Linked DNA regions of Homo sapiens: all the other regions are linked to region 1. Evidence: promoter capture Hi-C in 16 types of primary human blood cells and fetal thymus (Javierre and others, 2016). All regions are on one chromosome and are shown on one strand. The core of a region is centred on a gene start or on the middle of the fragment in contact, and the rest is flanking DNA. Distances in the headings are between cores, read along the strand shown.

Region 1 (3,249 bases), core at 741-3,240:
AGGATCGAGGAGAAGAGAAAGTCAATAAATTCATGCTGTGGTGGTTTGGGGACCAAGCCCTTATCTCAATGATCCCCACCTTGAGTGCTCAGTTACGAAAAGAGGCTCAGAATGCAGACACCTTTTGCTACTTTGGACTGCAAGTTCCTCTCTTTGAAGCCCTGCAGCTCTTAAGGTTTTCTGCGACCCTACCAAGGAAATGACCTGTGTGAAGCAAGAAGAGATTTACACCAGGAAGTCCAATCTGGAGTTCTTTCTTGGATGTCAAGAACTTTTACTTGAGCCTTTGTGGGCCGTGTTCCCTGCACCTTAGTCCCGCTGTAAGTGATGTCAGGTCTAGGAGGGCTAAGGTGAAGGAGAGGGAAGGAGGAGGTAACAGCATAAAAGAGGCAGAAGTTCAGCGGCATCATCAGTGAGTAAGGATGCACAAGATTTGAATAGGGTTGATTGAAGTGATGAATTTGATGAGAATACATGAAGAAAGTGAGAGTAGAGAAGGGACATTCATGCTGTATGTACACTGAACAAAGACTCAGAATCACAGAGATTTGGGGTTGCTCTTGGGGTTCTTTGGTCCAACGCCTCATTCTGTGCCCAGACTCCCTCCTCAGCAGCCCTTCTAGGTGTTTCTTCAGCCTCAGCGCACACACCTGCAGGGAAGGGGAGCTCCCTCCCTCCCAAGGCAGCTCATTTCTTCCACGGACAGTTGGGGCTGTCAGGTGTGTCAGAAAGTTCTTCCTTATCTGGAGGTGGAATGTGCCTCCTTCTGGGTTTCCACCCACTGGTCCTAATTCTGCCATGGTAGCAACACAGAGCACATCGACTCTTTTTCTGTGTGGCAAGTCCTTTGTTATCTGAACACAAGGCTCATGGTGTCCCTTGGCATCTTGCTTTTCCAAGGTCACCACTGCCCTGGTAGGGGGTGGGGGTTATGGCTGTCATCCTGTTGGTGGCCCATCAGCAGTTTTCTATTCGCCATTAGAGTTAACCTTTATTAGTATAGATAAAGGAGTGCTGACAAGACCTCTTTTCATGCTCAACATCCACTGAGCACCTCTTGGCAGGTGGGGAGGGAATCCAGCCTTGTGCCAGGTGCTTCTGGAAACCTAAGGGTAGCAAGATGTGATTCTTTACATCGAGAAGCTCAGGCTTGGTTAGGGGGGACAAAATAGGTGACCTCTGGGTGCTGTGTATTGGGCTTACTTTGGTGAGGCAGTAGCTATCCAGGGGTTATTGCAAGAGCAGAGTGAGTGAAGCCCAGAGTGGGAGATCCTGCAGATGCCCCCTTTGTCTTCTGGTGCCAGGATCCCAAAGGCATGGGCGATGTGGCAAGAGGGGGGCTGGAGGGAATGTAGGCCCACATTGTGGGAGTCTCCCACCCAGCTCTCGGTGAATGGCATAACTTATGGCCCTGCCTCAGTCTCTGTCCTTGTTTCCCCATGGGCTACTGAGCTGAAAAAAGGGGCTGGGGATGGGGGGAAACAGCCCTGGAAATAGCCTCTTTCAGAATCATTAGGCTGAAAGGTGAAAGCTGGAAACTGCTTTGTCGATTGTTTTTAAACTCTCTGTCTTTATCTTGCTGGTCCCTGTCCTCTTTCTTCTTTGCCTCCCTCCTGCCGCTGCGCATCTCGCTTCTGGGCTCCGGCCGCAGCCCCCCTCCCTCTCGGTACCTTGCAACAGGCTCTGGAGATTGAGCTGCGCCTCCCGAAGCAGCTCCTCTACACTCGGGGGCCTGCCCGAGGAGAGGAACACGTTCACTGGCTGTCGCCATGACGACCTCGAGTGGGCAGTCGCTGTCGCATTTTCCCGACCCGAGTTAGCTGCAGCTAGGGAAGGAGAGAGTCAGTGAGAGGCGCAGGCGAGCTGGAGGGGAGCGGCGCGCGGCGGCCAGTGGGCGCCCGCGGTTCCCCAAGGCCCGCCCCTGCGTGGGGTGGGGGGAGTGCGAGGCTGCGCTTAAAAGGCGGGGAATCGCCGGCCGCAAGATTTTTCCTCGACAGATCCTGCCGCAGTCCGCTCCCTCCCGCTCCGCTCGCCCCTGCCCGCCCGCCCGCCCGGTCGCGCGGTCGCCGCCGCCACCGTGTCGCCCGCATCCTCCGCCTGGCGCCTCCGGGCCCCGTGCCTCCGCCCGCCCTCTCCGGCCCCGGCGACGAGGTAACGCGCCCTGGGCCGAGCCGCCGGGCCCTCCGCCCAGAGCGCCGCCCTCCGAGCTCGCCCCGGTGGGTGTGGCCCGGCCTGGCCCGTGCCCCGCTGCCGCACTTCGGTCCCTCCCGAGCCCCGCCGCCGCATTTCGGCCTCCTCCGGCCGCCCGTAGTTCCAGTTCCCCTTTCCCCACCACGGAGCCCCAGGGCCCCTGGGCTTGTCGAGATGTCTGAGGCGTCAGGAAATCTCAACAGCCTCCGCATGGCGAATGTGGCCCTGCGCGAAGAATTAAATGCCCTTCGCGGGGAGAATGCCAATTTGGGCCTCCAGCTCGGGAGAGCCCTGGCCGAGGTTAATTCCTTGCGGGGCAATGTCTCCAGCTACATCCGCTGGCCAGTACCCATAGTGCCCGTCCTTGCGGAGGAGAACTTGGAGTTCGCGCTCAGTGAGATCGAAGTCATTCCCGGGGGAGAACTGCCCTTCTTGTGCCGGCCTCCCCCACGCGCGGAGCCCGACTGTATCTCGGATGATCTTTTGATTAACGTGATCCAGGATCGCAGCACCCCCGACGGGCCCGCTGACCCCCCTCTGCTGCCCATCCCGCCCCCGCCGGCGCTGCCTCCGCCCGCGTCAAAGGAACCGCCCCCGCAACCCCCTCTGGCACCGCTGGAGCGGCCTGAGATAGAGCCCTTTTCAGGAGACCCAGTCTACCTGGCTGAATTCCTGATGCAGCTAGAGACCTTCATAGCCGACCATGAGGTTCATTTCCCCGGGGGCGCCGAGCGGGTGGCCTTTCTGATCTCCTTTTTCACTGGCGAAGCCAAGGACTGGGCCATCTCGGTCACCCAGGAAGGAAGCCCCTTGCATGCCAACTTCCCGCGCTTCCTGGATGAAATCCGTAAGGAATTCTGTGGCCCCATCCCCCCACGTGTGGCTAAAAAGGCCATTCGCAAGCTCAAGCAGGGCCACTGTACCCTCGGCAGCTATGCAGATGCTTTTCAGTTCCTGGCCCAATTCTTGTCTTGGGATGACTGCCGCCTCCAAAACCAATTCCTCAAAGGCCTGTCGGAATTCTTCCGCAAAGAGCTCTTATGGTCAACAGAAATGGCC
Region 2 (3,834 bases), core at 447-2,946, 130 kb after region 1:
TACTTATCAGCTGACATTGACTGAAATGGGGAGAAGCTGCCCATCTCATCTGGGTGGGCTCAATGTAATCATGAGGGTTTTTATAAAGTGAAAGCGGGAGGCTGGAGAGTCAGAGTCAGAGAAGGAGATGTATAGAAGCAGAATCAGGGTGATGGGATGTGAGAAAGACTCGAATGGCCACTTTTGGTTTTGAAGTCAAGGAATGCAGGCAGCCACTACACGCTGGAAAAGGCAAGGAAAAGGATTGTCCCGTAGAGTCCTAAGAAGGAATGCAGCCCTGCTAGCATCTTGATTTTAGTCCAGTGAGACCAATCTCAGACGTCTGCCCTCCAGAACTGTAAGATAATAAATTTGTGTTGTTTTAAGCCACTGAATTTGCGGTAATGTGTTACAGCAGCAATATGATACTAATACAATTGGCTTTGGACTCAGATGAATGTAGTTTAATGCTGGCTCACTGTATACCAATACTTGACCTTAGTCTAGTCATTTAACCTCTCTTAGCCTTAATATCCTTATCTGTAAAATGGAGACCACAATACCCTCACTTCATAGAGTTGAGGTAAAGAGCACCTGTAATGATGAACACAAAGGGATAGTACAGCCTCGCACAGAGAAGGTGCTGGGCAATGTTCTTTTCTTTCCTTCAATGTGTTTGATGAGATCATAATTCATATGTAGGACCGGTGGTGTTCTGGTAAGTGTTCAGCAACCAGCTCTCAAAAAAAATGCACAAACGTATATATAAATATACACATACATACATAGGTTTATTATAAATTTACTTATATAAGAATGTGAAGTGCTCAATTTACAGATAATACTGAAATATATAATACTCTTTATTATAAATTCCATATAACCAATGGATTCTCCCATAATGCTTTCATTGATTTTTGCTGAACACATATCAATAGCCAAACTTCGGCCATAACAGAAGAGCAAGTGCAGTTCCTAAATGAATGATGGTTGATATTTTCATTTATGTTAATGAGTAAGAAGAAAGTGAAACAACCAAGAAGTATTGGAACTTGACAATTTTTTTTTAAATGTTGAAATAATTTTAGACTTATAGAAGAGTTGTAAAAACAGTACAGAGAGTTTCTGTGTACCCTTTACCCAGCTTCCCCTTATGTTGACATCTTACATAATTATAAAACATTGATCAAAACTGAGAAATTAAACTTAGTACAACATTAACTAAAGTACAAACTTATTTGGAGTTCACCAGCTTTTCTACTGAAGTCTTTCTTCCATTCTAGGATCCAATCCAGGACCCATATTGTATTTAGTTGGTCATTTATTTTGTAGAATGTCTCTCAATTTCAGTTTGTCTTCTGTTTTCTCATATAATTTAATTTTTAATGATGGCTGTATTTAACAACTGGCTCATACGTTTCCTAAATATTTAACAATTGATTCTCGCAAACCACTACAAGCCAGCCCCAGCACACCACTCTAAGCAAAATTGACAAACAATTCATTCACGGTTTTTTCCCCATTAATTTCACAAATATTTATTGAGCGCCCTCTAGGGGCTAGTGCTGGGGATATAGAGATGACCAAAACACAGTCCTTGCCTGAGAAAATCAGAGATTAGGGGAGGTGACAGGACAGTAGCAGACAGTGCCTGTAGAGCGATGGATACGATAGAGGGTAATAGAATGTGGTGGAGCATTCAGAGGTGGGAGGGCCAAATTCTGGCTGAGGAAGTCAAGGGGAACATCAAGGATGAACAAGAGCTCCCCAGGTCAGACACAAGGAGGTTGAGGGAGGCTTCTCATGTAAGATGATGTGTGAGCTGAGTCTTGATGCATGAGTGGGAATGAGCCAGTCAGCTGAGGAAGCAGAAGGAACAACAGTCACTCATTTATTCCTTCATTTATTAAGCACCTATTAGGTATCCATTCCATACTATGCTCTGGAGATGCTCAAACAGGTAATGAATAAGGGCCCTCCAGTGTGACTGGTGATGGTGTCTGAGCTATCTTGAAAGATGAGGCAGTGTTTGCATGTGTGAAGGTGGTGTCATGAATGAGCATGGGGCATGAGGGCATTGAGTATAGATCAGCAGTGGAGAGGACCCCACGGCCAGACACCTCCTCCCTGAGAGTGCAGAAAGATGAAGGGGGAGCTGAAAGGCCACTGACCATCGTTTAACCTAGAGCAACCAATAGGTTTTGCCAGAGGACAACTAATGCCAGAACCTTCCTATGCAGGCGCCACATGTTCATAGCCCCCTTCTCTCCAGCCCTTCACACTAAACCTCCACGTAAAGATCCCCAGAACTACACTGAGCAGCTTACCCCTGCCTTAGGCAGAAGGATGAGGTGGTGATGATATGGTGTCACAGGCCAACTCTCAACAGAGGTCCTTGACCTGAGACCAAGACGCCCCAGAAAAGTGCCAGTGTTCCTACCTCAGATGCCTTCTCTGACCATAAACTAAAGCAACCCCAACACATACACAACCCCAGCCATTCTCTATCCCATTATACTACTTGATTTTCTTCATAACACTTATTGCTATCTGAATAAGTGCTAATAAGTGCTTTTTAGATCTTTACTTGTTTTTGCTAGTCTCCTTCCATTACAAGTTAAGCTCCTCAAATGTAGAAACCCTTGTCTATCTTGTCTTCAATACATCCCCAGCTCTCAGCTCAGGGCCTGGCCCTTAGGAGTATTTGTGAAATATTTGTAGAATAGATGACTGAATGAATGGATGAACGAATGCTTTTACTAATATTTGACAGCTGTACTCCTAATCCTCTGTGGCCCAAACTTTTGCCCTCCATTTTAAGTCTGTTGCATATTCCTTCAGTACCTTGACTTAGAACTTGAACCTTACAAGGAGGAGCAACACTAACATGCATGAAATTCAGAATGCTCCTGTTGGAACTATTGTGAGAATGCAAAAGATAACAACAAAAACTAACACTTGTTGTGCTAAGTGCCAGCTCCCATCCTAAGCCCTTTATATATATTTAATAAATATCTGTTGAGTACCTGCCAGGTGCCAGGGATTGTTTAGGCCCTAGGGACATGGCAATGAATAAAAGACAAAAATCTCTGCTTTTAGGGAGCCTAAACATTAGCCAACTTAATCTGAAAACAGCCTTAAGATGTAGATCCTGTGATTATTCCCATTTTAAAGATGAGGAACCTGAGGCACAGAGGCTAAGTAACTTACCCAAGATCGCACAGCAGTGGAATGGCAGAGCCAGGCAGTATGGGCCCTGAGCCTGTGTTCCTAACCAGTAGGCTATTCTGCCTCCTGGAGAGCTATGGGAAAGTGCTTGGCAAACTTTCAAAGACTTCGATAAATTTGAATTCCTATCATTCTTGGTAGAAGCACATTGTGTTATGGGGGCAGTAAAGAGACTGGGCCAGGGAGTTCAGAGGACGTGTGGAGGGCAGTGGTCCTGGAGGTGGCCTTTGGCACATCTTGGGCCAGGAGAGCACTAGCTGTGCTGTGACTCCCCAGCCCCTTGCTGGAGACTGTCAGACTTAGCAGATCCACATAGAGTAAGGCTGCACGAGGGAGGCTGTAAGGCCTCCCCACTGGCACGTTCTTAGCTCTTTGTGGGTTTTTCTTCCCCCATTGTTGTCGTAGAGTCCTGTCCTGATCCCCCTTCTACCGATTTGTTGCCCTTGTAGTGGCCCTGCCCCACCCACCTTGCCACAGTCCTCCCATTCAGCCTCCTAGCCCAAGAAGACAAAGGAAACTTTGACTGTCCCCCACTGGGCTTTTCTGATATTCTGTTTCCATTGGAACAAAGAACAGCTCACCAAGTGCTCTCTGATCCTTGGAATGAGAAAGGAAAATAGTTTATCA
Region 3 (3,796 bases), core at 235-2,734, 150 kb after region 1:
ATATTGCTGTTGTACTCTTTGTGTAGGAATGCAGGATAAGCTTACCGAATGTTTTCTTACATTGAATACTTATTAATCTTCAAGATATCACCTTTTGTCAGAACTCAGAATTGTGAATGGCCCATGACATACCAATGCTTTCTGACTGAGCTCCTCTCTACCCTGATTGCAAGAGATCTAATAGTTAGACAGGAATATCATCACCGCTATTCATTAGAAGATGGATCTTTGTCCCTCTGCAACCCTTAGGATTAAGGGTTCTCTTATAAAAGTGAGGGGGGAAATGTCAGAGGTGTTTGAACCACAGCAACTCCATCTTGAATAGGGGCTGGGTAAAATAAGGATGAGACCTGCTGGGCTGCGGTCCCAGTAAGTTAGGCCTTCTTAGTCACAGCATGAGATAGGGGGTCGGCACAAGATACAGGTCATAAAGCCCTTGCTGATAAAACAGGCTGTAGTAAAGAAGCTGGCTAAAACCCACCAAAACCAAGATGGCGATGAGAGTGACCTCCGGTCATCCTCACTGCTACATTCCCACCAGCACCATGACAGTTTACAAATGCCATGGCAACATCAGGAAGTTACCCTATAAGGTCTAAAAAGGGGAGGCATGAATAATCCACCCCTTGTTAAGCTTATCATCAAGAAATAACCATAACTTTTTCAAGTCCACTGTGGTGGCTCTGGGTAGTTCCTTTCTCATTCCTTTTTTTTCCTTTAACAGTTTTATTTTTTTTTTAGAGACAGGGTCTCACTCTGTTGCCTAGGCTACAGAACAGTGGCGTGATCATGGCTCACTGCACCCTCAAGCTCCTGGGCTAGAGTAATCTCCACACCTCAGCCTCCAGAGTAGCTGGAACTTCAGGTGTGTGCCACCAGGCTTGGCTAATTTTAATTTTTTTTTTTTTTGTAGAGGTGGGGTCTCACTATGTTGCCCAGGCTGGTCTTGAAGTCCTGGGCTCAAGCAATCCTCCCACTTCGGCCTCCCAAAGTGCTGGGATTACCAGCGTGAGACATAGCACCAAGCAAAATTTATACTGAGATATAATTCGCGTAGCATATAATTCAATCAATTAAAGCAGACAATTCAATGGCTTTTTAGTATATTCACAGAGTTGTATACCCATCATCATAGTGAATTTTAGATCATTTCCCGGTGATAGTGGAAAAACAAACTGTTTTTCCTCTGTTCTCACACCACAACAACAATCAACACAGAAAATTCTGTAACCAAATGTGTGGGATTTTCTCTCCCCATTCGCCAAATAAGCAATCAATTCTACAGTAGACACAGATGTCTTCCAGTTCAATTCTGATACTATCTACCTGAAGATAGCATCATATCCCACAGGTTGAAGGCTCAGTCCCCAAGACTGCGTCCCCCCTTCTTCACACACCAGTTGCAAGTTCTAGCCTCTGGAACTTCTGGACAACCAGCTTCAAATTGGAGTTCCCATTACCCCCTCTTTTCTTCTATTAATTTGCTAAAGCAGCTCACAGAACTCAGGGAAGCACTTACTGACATTTACTGGTCTATAATAAAGGACATAAAAAATGATACAGATGAAGAGATGCATCAAGCAAGGAAGGTATGTGGGAAGGGGCACAGAACTTCCATGTTCTACTTGGGTAGGCCACCCTCCATGAATCTTCACGTGTTCAGCTATCCAGAAGCTCACTGGACCCTGTTCTTTTGAGTTTTTGTGGAGGCTTCATTATGTAAGCATGATTGTTTAAATGATTGGCCATTGGTGATCAACTTCACCTTCAGCCCCTCTCCCGTCCCTGGAGGTTGGGCTGAAAGTCCCAACCCTCTATTCATGCCTTGGTCTTTCCAGTGACCAGTCCCTATTCTTGGGCTACCCAACCATCAGTCAACTCATAGGCATACAAAAAGACATCACTTTGGAGACTCCAAGGATTTTCGGAGTTGTATGCCAGGAAATGGAGACAAAGACCAAATATATATTTCATAACATCACACCCCCCAAAAGAAACCCTAACTTATTAGCTCTCTATTATCCTCCCCACTCCAGCCCCTGGCAACAACTAGTCTATTTTCTGTCTTTATGGATTTGCCTAATCTGGGCATTTTATAGAAATGGAATCATACAGTATATGGGCTTTGTGTCTGGCTTCTTTTGCTTAGCCTAGTGTTTTCAAGGTTCATCCATGTTGTAGCATATATCAGTACTTCATTCATTTTTATGACTGGTTCCATCATATGAATATACCACAACTGTTTATCCACTCACACATTGAAGGACATTTGGGTTGTTTCCATCTTTTGGCTATTACAAATAATGCTCCTATGAACATTTATGTACAAGCTTTTTTTTATGGGGACATATGCTTTTATTTCTCTTGAGTATGTACCTAAGAGTGGAATTACTGGGTCATACGGTAACCTGGGTCATATGTTTAACCTTTTGTGTAACTGCTGTACTGTTTTCCATAGAGGCTGCACCATTTTATGTTCCTACCAGTGGTATTTGAGATTTCCAGTCACTCCACATCCTTGTCAACACTTATTATTTGTATGTTTGATTACAACAAATCTATTGGGTGGGAAGTGGGATCTCATGTGGTTTGATTTAAATTTCCCTCATGGATAATGATGTTGAACATCTTTTCATGTACTTGTTGGCCATTTGTATATCTTCTTTGGAGAACTGTCTATTCAGATCTTTGTTCATTTTTAAATTGAGTTGTTTGTCTTTTTATTGTTGAGTTTTAAGAGTTCTTTATATATTCTGGATACAAGTTCTTTACTAGATATATGATTTGCAAACCTTCTTTTTTTTTTTTTTTTTTGAGACAGAGTCTTGCTCTGTTGCCCAGGTTGGAGTGCAGTGGCACGATCTCTGCTCACTGCAACCTGGGTTCAAACAATTCTTGTGCCTCAGCCTCCTGAGTAGCTGGGACTACAGGTGTGTGCCAACACACTCAGCTAATTTTCGTATTTTAAAAAGAGATGGGGTTTCGCCATGTTTGCCATGTTGGTCTTGAACTCCTGACCTCAAGTGATCCACCCGCCTTGGCCCAAAGTGCTGGGATTACTGGCGTGAGCCACTGTACCTGGCCATAAGATTTACAAAACTTTTGTCCATTCTTTGGGCTGTCTTTTCCCTTTCTTGGTAACCTCTGAAGCACAAAGTTTTTTACTTTTCATAAAGTTCAATTTACCTAGTTTTTCTTTTGTCTTTTGTGCCTTTGGTGTTATATCTAAGAAACCATTGCCTGATTCAAGGTTACAAAGATATACAACTACACTGTCTTCTAACGGTTTTACAGCTTGAGCTCTTACAGTTATGTCGTTGATCCACTTTGAGCTAACTTTTGTACATGATATAAGGTTAGGAGTCCAAATTATTCATTTTTGCATGTAGATTCTCCTTTTTAATTTCAAGGGGCAACACCCTAGTTGAGAATTGGGTCTAGGGAAAATAATAATTACAAAAATCATTGATTAGGTCTCTATCAGGCACTCACATATGCTACCTCTTATTTTTGCAGTAACTCTTCACGGTATATCTTTCTACTATCCTCCTTTTATAGCTGATCAAAGTAAGACAGATTAACTTGTCCCACATTGCCCAACTGACAAGAAGCAGAGCTAGGATTTGCATCAGGCCCATCTGTCTCCAAAGCCCAGACTCACAGTGCTGCACTGGATTGCAAGTAGGCTTCATTCTGTTCATTGACTCTTTCAACTTATCCTTATGCACATATGTACACACACTACACACACACACACACACACACACACACACACACACACCCCACACACCCCACA

The links. The method cuts DNA at HindIII sites, captures the fragments that hold promoters and counts their contacts. A CHiCAGO score of 5 or more calls a contact.
Region 2: a contact is called between a fragment that was not itself captured here and the fragment with the promoter of RTL5 in region 1, in 17 of 17 cell types (neutrophils, naive B cells, activated CD4 T cells and 14 more). The highest score is 34.5, in neutrophils.
Region 3: a fragment that was not itself captured here is called in contact with the fragment with the promoter of RTL5 in region 1 in 8 of 17 cell types (neutrophils, monocytes, naive B cells and 5 more); the score reaches 8.0 in neutrophils.

The regions. Positions count from the first base shown.
Region 1 is chrX:72,130,656-72,133,904 of GRCh38, reverse strand. RTL5 (retrotransposon Gag like 5) reads left to right here and starts at 1,990. Exons shown (of 1, transcript NM_001405151.1): 1 at 1,990-3,249. The coding sequence starts at 2,365. It overlaps NHSL2 (NHS like 2), which reads right to left. Exons shown (of 8, transcript NM_001013627.3): 2 at 1,671-1,826. RefSeq lists silencers at 1,910-1,969, 2,130-2,199. The HindIII fragment of the contact is 11,603 bases long and covers 1-3,249 here.
Region 2 is chrX:71,997,008-72,000,841 of GRCh38, reverse strand. The region is part of intron 1 of NHSL2 (NHS like 2); the gene reads right to left. Among named protein-coding and RNA genes, the nearest start is that of NHSL2, 88 kb to the right of the region's middle. RefSeq lists an enhancer at 3,470-3,834. The HindIII fragment of the contact is 6,669 bases long and covers 1-3,834 here.
Region 3 is chrX:71,980,555-71,984,350 of GRCh38, reverse strand. All of the region lies in intron 1 of NHSL2 (NHS like 2), which reads right to left. Among named protein-coding and RNA genes, the nearest start is that of NHSL2, 72 kb to the right of the region's middle. The HindIII fragment of the contact is 1,696 bases long and covers 637-2,332 here.